3 separate regions of the Homo sapiens genome follow, and regions 1 and 3 are each linked to region 2. The links are contacts of gene promoters, found by promoter capture Hi-C in blood cells and fetal thymus (Javierre and others, 2016). All regions are on one chromosome and are shown on one strand. The core of a region is centred on a gene start or on the middle of the fragment in contact, and the rest is flanking DNA. Distances in the headings are between cores, read along the strand shown. Region 1 has its middle 23 kb from the start of SIX3-AS1. Region 2 holds the start of LRPPRC (leucine rich pentatricopeptide repeat containing). Region 3 has its middle 160 kb from the start of LINC01833.

Region 1 (2,888 bases), core at 101-2,600, 970 kb before region 2:
CAAAGGGAGAGGTTGCCAAAAGACAGTCTGAGGGGAAATGGGAAGAAGCAATCCCCCATTCTGCTTTAGGGCTGGGGACAAAAGGGTTCCTTCTTCCTTGAATACTGTTAACCACAGGCCTTTTGGGGGCCCTGCTGGAGGAGACATCCCATGGGCTCTCCCCTAAATCACATGAGATGACTCATCTCCACCCACATCAGCCACCCTGCTTTCCACACTGTAGAAACTTCTCTGTTCTTCCCAGACAACTGAATGCCAATATTTCTTAAGTTTCTTTCCTGCCAATAAATTCTGTTTTGTTCCAGGGGAAACAGGGTTCTACCATAAATGCTTTATTTGTGTGTGGTATTTACGGTGTTCGTCCACCTGTATATGGTCAGTGCTTTCCTTTTCACATCCAGCCAGCCATCCTGGGTCTTCCTGCAGGACGGACAGTCCAGAGACACTGAAACAGGCCCGTGCAGGGGATGGAGAGGATGTCCCCTGGCACTAAGACAGACCGCATTTGACCCCACTGTTCTCTGTCAGTCAATGGGGAAGGCACGTTTTAACAAGAACGGGGGTCCCTCTCAGGTTCTTTGAGGTGCCACCACTCCTGCTCTACCCACAAACCTAACACCTGCTCAATATCATGCCCATAAGCTATGAACACTGGGGACTAATCGAGAAGAGAGGTGAAGGGGAAACTGAGGCAAGGGCCAAGGCCAGGCCAGTGGGTATTGCTGCTTCCAAGGCAGCTGGGGAGGAGAGATTCCATTTCCTGAGCTAAGCTTGTTCCATTTCAGTTTGAACAGATGGAAATATAGTTCAATGTTTCAACATCATTTGCCTTTCTCGTGCTAAAATATTGATAAGTGCTGCCCGGGCTGATGCCCCCGCAGTTCCCAGCAGTAACTGGAGCATGATGTGTACTGAAGTGAGACATGGCAAAGCCTTTAACGAGTGTTTAAAATTCCTGGAATAATGCTCAACACTGGCTCAGCTCATTCGGCTCCTGAAAACTGCCCCCCCCCCCACCGCCCCCCTGTCGCCCCCTAATCGGCAGGAGGAGTGCGAGCACAGCCCGGCCCCCCTGCTGGTGGCAATTAGTGCGGCAGCTGCTCGTCTTCAGGACAGCAAACAATGCAGGGGGTGCCTGCATCTGCCGAGGCGGCTGAGCCAGGCAGGGAGGCTGGAGCACTGGGGAGGCAAGGACATGGGGAGCTGGCTCCTCCACCTGCAGGGGGCTGTCACACGGAACACAGACCCCAGGGAGAGGGAACACTGGGCGGGGCTGTCCAGAAAGGCAGATGAGGGAAGGGCAAGAAAAGGGGGAAGAACACCAGGTTTGGTGGCTCATGCCTGTAATCCCAACACTTTGGGAGGCCGACGTGGGTGGATCACCTGAGGTCAGGAGTTTGAGACCAGCCTGGCCAACATGGTGAAATCCCATCTCTACTAAAAAAAAAAAAAAAAAAAAAAATTAACTGGGCCTGGTGGTGTGTGCCCATAATCCCAGCTACTCAGGAGACTGAGGCAGGAAAATCATTCAAACCCAGGAGGTGGAGGTTGCAGTGAGCCGAGATCATGCCACTGCACTCCAGCCTGGGCGACAGAGCGAGACTCCATCTCAAAAAAAGAAAGAAAAGAAAAGGGAGAAGAAGGGAAAAGAGGAAGATGAAGAGGGTGGGGACTTAAGAAGGAAGGGGAGAGGAGGAAGAGAGGAAGTAGCCAGGAACAGCAAATCCCCTGGGAAGAGCTTGCCAAGCTCCGATAAGAGAATCCAATATGTGGCTGTAGAAAGGGAAAAAGGACCCTCAAGAGGGCCTCAGCCAGCGGCATCCCAGTCCTAAGACACCTCTCTGCAAGTTGCAGCCATGACAAAGGCCCCCAGACCCAGAGCTGAGAGGAAACCTACAGTGTGGACCTGGGATGTCACTTCCAAGCTTTAGAACAATCCAGGCTTCCCGGGCAAGGCTCTCCTGGGATCACAGTATCCCCCTTGTGGAGATCAAGTGGTCTAATTGTGGAATGTTAAACTTCTCACATACTTTAAGGTGCTGGGTGTTTGGTTCACAATTTTTGAAAACACTTGGCTGGGTGCGGTGGCTCATGCCTGTAATTCCAGCACTTTGGGAGGCTGAAGCGGGTGAATTACTTAAGGCCAGGAGTTCAAGACTAGTCTGGCCAACATGATGAAACCCCATCTCTACTAAAAATACAGAAATTAGCCAGGCATGGTGGTGGGCACACTAGTCCCAGCTACTTGGGAGGCTGAGGCAGGAGGATCACTTTAACCCGGGAAGTGGAGGTTGCAGTAAGCCAAGATCATGCCACTGCACTCCAGCCTGGGTGACAGAAAGATAATCCAACTCAGAAAAGAAAGAAAGAAAGAAAGAAAGAAAGAAAGAAAGAAAGAAAGAAAGAAAGAAAGAAAGAAAGAAAGAAAGAAAGAAAGAAAGAAAGAGAAAGAAAGAAGGAAAGAAAAAGAAAGAAAGAAAGAAAACTCTTTATAGATCTTTGTGAGATTGTTCAGAATAATGTTTTCCAGAAGGCCTATTTGAATCAAGAAGACAATGTCGGCTTTTTTCAACAGTGACCAGACTGTGAGAGAAAGCAAGGCTGTGCCCCAGAAAGCTGTGGGGTAGCCCCACTGGAAGGAATTCCAGGCTGGTGGGTGTATGGGACTTAAGTCAGTAGAACTCAGAGCCACTAACCGAAAGTATAAGCATTATTATTATACATGATTGTAGATTGATTGATTAACATTTACAACAGGAAAGAAAAAATAGGAAATCTACAATGGGTTGGAAAGCAAGACACAACAAACTCATTACTTACGCTCTCCCTCTGCCTTCCACAAAATAAAACTCAATGAAGTAATGTAAATATAACAATCTTATTTTCTG
Region 2 (3,104 bases), core at 213-2,712:
TCTTCGTTCCCTCATCTCTCAAAGGAGAGGTGAGCTAGGTCATCTCAAAATAGACATTAATTTAACACATATTTAATGAGACCTACTGTGTGTCTGGCACTGGGTAGGTGTATGGCCTACAATAAGAGATCACAGTCCCTACTGATAAGGAGTTCGTGGGATTAACTGATAAGGAGTCCAGTGGGATAAACAGTCACTTCGGAAATGACCGTGGGAGGGCTTCCAGAGGAAATACCCGCCGCGTTTGCCTCGTGATAGGTAGGGGACAGGCAGGTGTAGAGGGAGTGGAAGGCTGTTCTCAGCTTCCCACGTGTGCACAGGGAACCGATCCAGTCTGTAAGCCCTGTGAAGGCAGCGACGTGGTTTTTTTGTTTTGTTTTAGACAGAGTCTCGCTGTGTCACCCAGGCTGGAGTGCAATGGCGCCATCTTGGCTCACTGCAACCTCCACCTCTCGGGTTCAAGCAATTCTCCTGCCTCAGCCTCCCGAGTAGCTGAGATTACAGGCGCCCGCCACCACGCCCGGCTAATTTTTTGTATTTTTAGTACAGATGGGGTTTCACCATGTTGGCCAGGCTGGTCTCCAACTCCTGACCTCAGGTGATCCACCCGCCTCGGCCTTCCAAAGTGATGGGATTACAGGCGTGAGCCACTTCGCCAGCGATGGGTTTAACTTGCCAGTTTTCTCCCCATATTTGGCTGGAGACTCTTAATTACATTGTTCTTTTACTTCTCACATGTATATGTGCATTTACTGAAGGGAGAGGCGCGGTAGGGGTGGAGGGTTGGGGAAGAGAGTCAGTTCAATTCCAGCTTTAAAACTATAGGATTTTTGGTAGAATTCATTTATTTTCTAAAGCGAGGCCCCGCGTACGCGCTTAGGGTGGGGACCTGCGCGTTCCTTTACACTGTTCCCAGGCCCTGATAATCCACATCCTATCATGTTGAACCTGGGAGGCAAACGGCAAGGTGCAAAAGACCTCCACGGTTTCTCCGGCCCGCGTTTCTGAGAGTGAAGGGCCGTTCCTATTGGACATGGCGTCAGGGCTGAACGTTAGCAGCAACATCTGCACTCGGGGGCGGGGGAAACCTTCCCACGTCCTGGGATCTTCATAGTCGGCTCTCCTCGAGAGTTCTCGGTATTTTTACTAGTTGGCCTCCCACAAGCCTCTGCGCCAACCTGGGAGGAGTTGACCTCTTGCGGCTCTACCAACAGAGGAGTGCAGGGGTGCAGCGAATGAACACGATGCCCAGATCGGAGACGGAAGACGGAAAAGAAAAGCTTCGATAATGAATCAAGCAACATCGTTTATGTAAATATTACATTGGGTCTTCTGTCCTCGGAGAAGTGCGGTTTTCCATCTTCCAACCTAAAACAATCCGTCGCTCCCCCCACATTTGGCACGCCCGGCAGTTGGTCTCTGCCGCGCCAGGCTACCCTGCGGTCACATGCTCCTCCTGTCCTTCTGGCGGAGCGTGCTTCCCGCTGCGGGGACGTTCGAGCAATGGCAGCCCTGCTGAGATCCGCGCGTTGGTTGCTGCGTGCCGGGGCGGCCCCGCGCCTCCCGCTCTCCCTGCGCCTCCTCCCTGGCGGCCCGGGCCGGCTGCATGCCGCCTCCTATCTGCCCGCCGCTCGCGCCGGGCCCGTGGCCGGGTGAGTGCCCAGGCCCTTTCTCCAGGCAAGCTGCGGCGCCAGGGTCCCCCGGGGTCGTGGGTGCCGGCAGGGACCGGGTCCTGCCTGTGCTCGCCACCCTTCTCCCCGCCCCAGGACCTAGCCTCCCCGGGCTCCGCACCACGCTCCCTACCAGGGGTTTTCGGGTGACAGGGTTAAGCGCCTTCAGAAGGTCACGGCTGTGGGCATGGCCTGCCTCCGGCTTGAATCCTGCCCCCGCCACTTCAGCCTGGACCTTACTGCCCTCGGGGTACCCATGGTCAACGAAGATGAGGGGGGCTTTGAAGACTGCTTTGGGAAGTCGGGTGGTGGTCTTTTCCTTACACTTGGCCAGCTTGGGTGGTGTCCCACGTGCGGTCACCGTTGGTGATCAGTAACCACCTAGCATTTAGATATTGGAAATTTAGCTTTTTGCGAGGGATGGGGCGGCGAGGAGTGGGTTGGGAGTTTGGGTGAGCCACGGATGACTTAAAGCTGGACGCTGGATTATGATCACTTTGGGCTTTTGCCTGCGTTCTCTTGAATGGAGTTTTCCTTCAGCATTTAAGAAGGTGTTGCGCGAGTTGGGCTGGAGTGCAGTGGCGCGATCTCAGCTCACTGCAACTTCCGCTTCCCGGGTTCAAGCGATTCTCCTGCCTCAGCCTCCCGAGTAGCTGGGATTACAGGTGTGCGCCACCATGCCAGGCTAACTTTTGTACTTTTAGTAGAGACTGGGTTTCACCATGTTGGCCACGCTAGTCTCGAACTCCTGACTTCAAGCGATCCTCCTGCCTCGGCCTCCCAAAGTGCTGGGATTACAGGTGTGAGCCACCGCTCCCGTCCTGTAAGTGTCTTTGAATGAATGAGCACATGCAAGGCACTCTGTTGGAATCTGGGGATGCAAAGGCAAGTTAAACTCTAAGTGGGTGTCAGATAGGCGAATAAATGCTCTCATGGTTTGAGGTTTATCAGAGATAGGTTTGGTATAGACTTTTGTAGTGGAGGGGAAAAGAAAAGTTGGTGAAAGTGTTCATTTGGTTATTAATAGTATTCTGACCACCAGAGAAGGGGAGATAGGTGCTGAGCTTTTAGCATTGGAGAAAAAATGATTTTGAAAGACTGATGCTTGTAAATTAAGGTACTTTGAGAGCTCGCGTAAGGACTGAGAGCCAGGGATCTGCAGTAGGCTGGGCCCAGACTGCAGCCTACTCCAGATTTATCTGCATTTTATCCTCAAATTATCTGCATTATGCCATTAGAGAAGTTACTTAACATCTCCAGGCCTCAGCTTCCTTAGCTATAAGGTGGGAGTAGTAGTAGTGTTAGGAATATTGCAGAATTATCTGTATTAAGCACTTAGTATAGGGCCTGATGCCTAGTAAGTGCTTTGTTGGTTACTACAGGAGTCATAATATCTACGGTTATGCGGACCTTCATGGACCAGCCTGAACACCT
Region 3 (3,066 bases), core at 485-2,984, 780 kb before region 2:
CTCATCTTATGGGGCAGAAGGTGGGCCAACCAGGAGTATCCCTGGAGAGAGGAAAGATCTCTGGACACTCAGAAGCTGTGAGCGGCTTCATTCTCCTCCAAGCTGCTTCATACTTGCTCTCGCTTGGCATCATGAGATGCTGCTTGAGAGAGAGACAGAGGGACAGTGAGAGATCCACTCAAAATGTAGGCTGGATCAGGGATGTGGCCTCTGCTCCTAAAAATAAAGCCTGTGGAGGAAAATGAAGGCTAATGTACCTGGAGGTGGAACCATAGGTCAGGTGGGCAAAGCTTTTAAATGTACTGCCTTCTGGGTTGGGAACAGCATGGTGACATTCCCTGAAGCTCAAGGAGAGCTCGGCCATCAGAAGGCAGACTGCAGATCAAGACAGTGATGGCCTGAGCTCACTTTCCGACCTAGTCTGACAGTCACATCGTGTTCAGCTTCTACCTTTCTCACATTGGTAGGCTGCAAACCATCAAAAAGTAGAATTTCATATACAAAGCCGAGTCCTTATTCTAGATTGCACAGGTGATGCCCAGACAACAAGCCAACATTTTCAGATCCCACCGCCCAGCTTTCACCATGGACCTGGCCTGGGATGGTGCGGCCTCGGTGCCCACCGGGAAGGCAGAGTGGCCCAGCGTGGGCGGCAGAGGTGAGGGAGGGAACGCTGCTCTGAGGCCTTTTTCTTGTAGCTCCAGACAAATTAAAAACCTCCTTACCAGCCATTCATTCTGAGGAGGCCTCTTCCTTCCTCCACAGGGGGGCTGCTGTGTTGGAAGCCGATCGGATTCAGGGAGGCTGGGCCTCCCGGAGCTCTCAAGGAGGGGGAGCGGCAAGAATGGAAAGAGAGAGGCCCTAACCCTGAAGAGATTGGCAGGCAGGGAGTGGGGGCAAAGTGCAGCCCAGGTCACTGGGAAAAAAGAAATCTCAAAGTAAGGGAGTGGGGGAAAGTTCCACTTTCAGCCTAATTATGAAAGAGGCCTCGGTAGAGAGGGGCGGGGGAGCCCAAAGAAGAGAGAAAAGGGAAGTGAGATGTTGCAGAGAGCAGAAAGAGATTCTCAGGGGGCACAGGCTATTGAAGGAACGCAGGCAGGGAAAGGTGCCGCCTCTTCAAACGTGGGTCTGTTATAACTGATTTTGAGAGACCTGGAAGCATGTTCGCCTGGGACTCCCAAAGAGGGAGGGCAAAATGCCCTATTAAGGGTGGGACGAATTGATTTCCCAAAGAAGCACAGCACCATTTCCTCCAAATGCCCTCTGCAGTCCTCCTTAATCTGCCCTGGAGGCAGCAGGTGACCTCTGCACAGGCCCCTGGAGGCGCCTTTGTTCGGGGGCATTCTGCGGCCCGCCCCGCCCCCTCCCCTTGCACCTGGGCAGCAGCCTCAAAATGCACTTGTCCACCCTTGGCCGGCTCCCGTGGTGGGATGGCGGATGCCTTTGTATGTGAAAAGCCACGAGCCCTCCAACTCCTGTTTTCCCTTCGGCTTGACACATTCACTAATGTATTTCCTGTTCACTCCCAGGAGAAAAAAAGAGTGCCTGCAATACTTTATCTGGTAAGACAAGTCTGTGACTGAGACTACCAAGCGGGCCAACCCTTGCTGTTCCTGGGAGAGCCACTGCCATTCAGAAAGCTTGGCTCTGCCCTCGAATCCCCAAGTGTTCCCTGCCGGGTTCTAATCCAAGCCCTCTGAGGTTTGCTAATTTAATTGTGTAATGGTCCACACCTGAGACATTCCCTGAACTATCTTTAGGACACTACTTAGCCTAAAAGAAAGACAAATAAGAGTATTAAGACAGGGACTTAGACATTGAAAGCTTTTACCATCTCCAAAACATCTGAGTCAAGCAGAAGAAAACGGGGTGGGAGGATGAGGGGTGGCCTCAAAGTCAGAACAAGCAACAAGAAGTAAATAAAGTTCTTGCTAAGTGAGTCTGAAATATGTATTTAGCCCTTGTAAATTAAATAACACTGGTTTTTAAAGAGTGATTCTCCGAACATCTATTATTCACATCAGTAGGACAGACGGTAAGCCACTGTAAGATTTATAGAAACTAAAAGACTTCCCATGCTAAAGGTTAATGAAAGTGTAATTTGAATCATGAAATCTTTATGTGTCGGCTCAATTTACACCGAGGGCTCATTAAGGATGCGTTTGGTACAGCGGGCGGCAGGTGACGTCACATTAGTATTTAAATGGGCGGGGCCAGGCTGCTCTGCATGTAATCCTTTAAAAATATAACAGCCTCTCTCTTTCCTTCTCTGTCTCTCCAGCTGTAACAACTTCACCAACTGTCTGGGTTCCACCCCGAGGATTTCACTGAGAGAACACGTTAGAGGGAATCAGGAAGCAGAAAAAAGGTCACAAATAAGCACCTCAGGAACAATGAAAGCTTTTCTCTATGCAGCAGTGGGAGAGTTGCTAGAAAAACTGGAAAGGTATTAATCAGAAGTGGCTATAAATGCTCTGGAGTTTTGCTCTTATAAAACTCCTCAGAGAAAGTCTTGAAGGAAATGCAGGTCAAAGCCCAAAAAAGCTCTTGATCAGAGATTGCTGGAGGAAAATCTTCCCAGACGCCGTTTAATAGGCAGCAATCACCCCAGGAGTGGGGAAGCCAAGTACGCTTGAAACATGGTTGCAATTCCTAATAGGTCTTGTCACACTTAAGGCACTGCAAGCTCCATCCAACGAACAGCTGAAGCTAGCTGGCGATTCATAAAGCCAACAGTTTAAAGTTTATTATGATGAAAGCACTTAATGACAGCCATCGCTAGGGGCCCATCATTTATAAAGCTGTGCTGAGTATTAGACATGTAGCATGACCACCAATTTTATGTCACAATTGCTACCATAAAATGACCTTTGGTGATTTTTGCTGCATGTGGTGGACAGCTCTTCCTTCACATTAGTGCTCTGTGGCTTTCTTTGCAGACTATTATGCTGTCTAAAGCTTATTTGGCACTGTCGTGAGCCTCAACCCTTGCTATTACCCCGAAGGCCTGTCTTAAAAAAAAAAATCTCATGCTCTATTACGCCACTCCAATAATTTACAGTTCTT

Evidence for each region. Contacts are between HindIII fragments. The CHiCAGO score rates a contact against its expected background, and 5 or more counts as called.
Region 1: a contact is called between a fragment that was not itself captured here and the fragment with the promoter of LRPPRC in region 2, in 1 of 17 cell types (M0 macrophages). The highest score is 5.7, in M0 macrophages.
Region 3: a contact is called between a fragment that was not itself captured here and the fragment with the promoter of LRPPRC in region 2, in 1 of 17 cell types (total B cells). The highest score is 6.3, in total B cells.

The regions. Positions count from the first base shown.
Region 1 is chr2:44,963,170-44,966,057 of GRCh38, reverse strand. No RefSeq gene overlaps it. Among named protein-coding and RNA genes, the nearest start is that of SIX3-AS1, 23 kb to the right of the region's middle. The HindIII fragment of the contact is 1,155 bases long and covers 773-1,927 here.
Region 2 is chr2:43,994,347-43,997,450 of GRCh38, reverse strand. It overlaps LRPPRC (leucine rich pentatricopeptide repeat containing), which reads left to right and starts at 1,462. Exons shown (of 38, transcript NM_133259.4): 1 at 1,462-1,652. The coding sequence starts at 1,504. RefSeq lists enhancers at 1,185-1,464, 1,260-1,911 and a silencer at 1,565-1,884. The HindIII fragment of the contact is 4,663 bases long and covers 1,283-3,104 here.
Region 3 is chr2:44,776,837-44,779,902 of GRCh38, reverse strand. No RefSeq gene overlaps it. Among named protein-coding and RNA genes, the nearest start is that of LINC01833, 160 kb to the left of the region's middle. The HindIII fragment of the contact is 184 bases long and covers 1,643-1,826 here.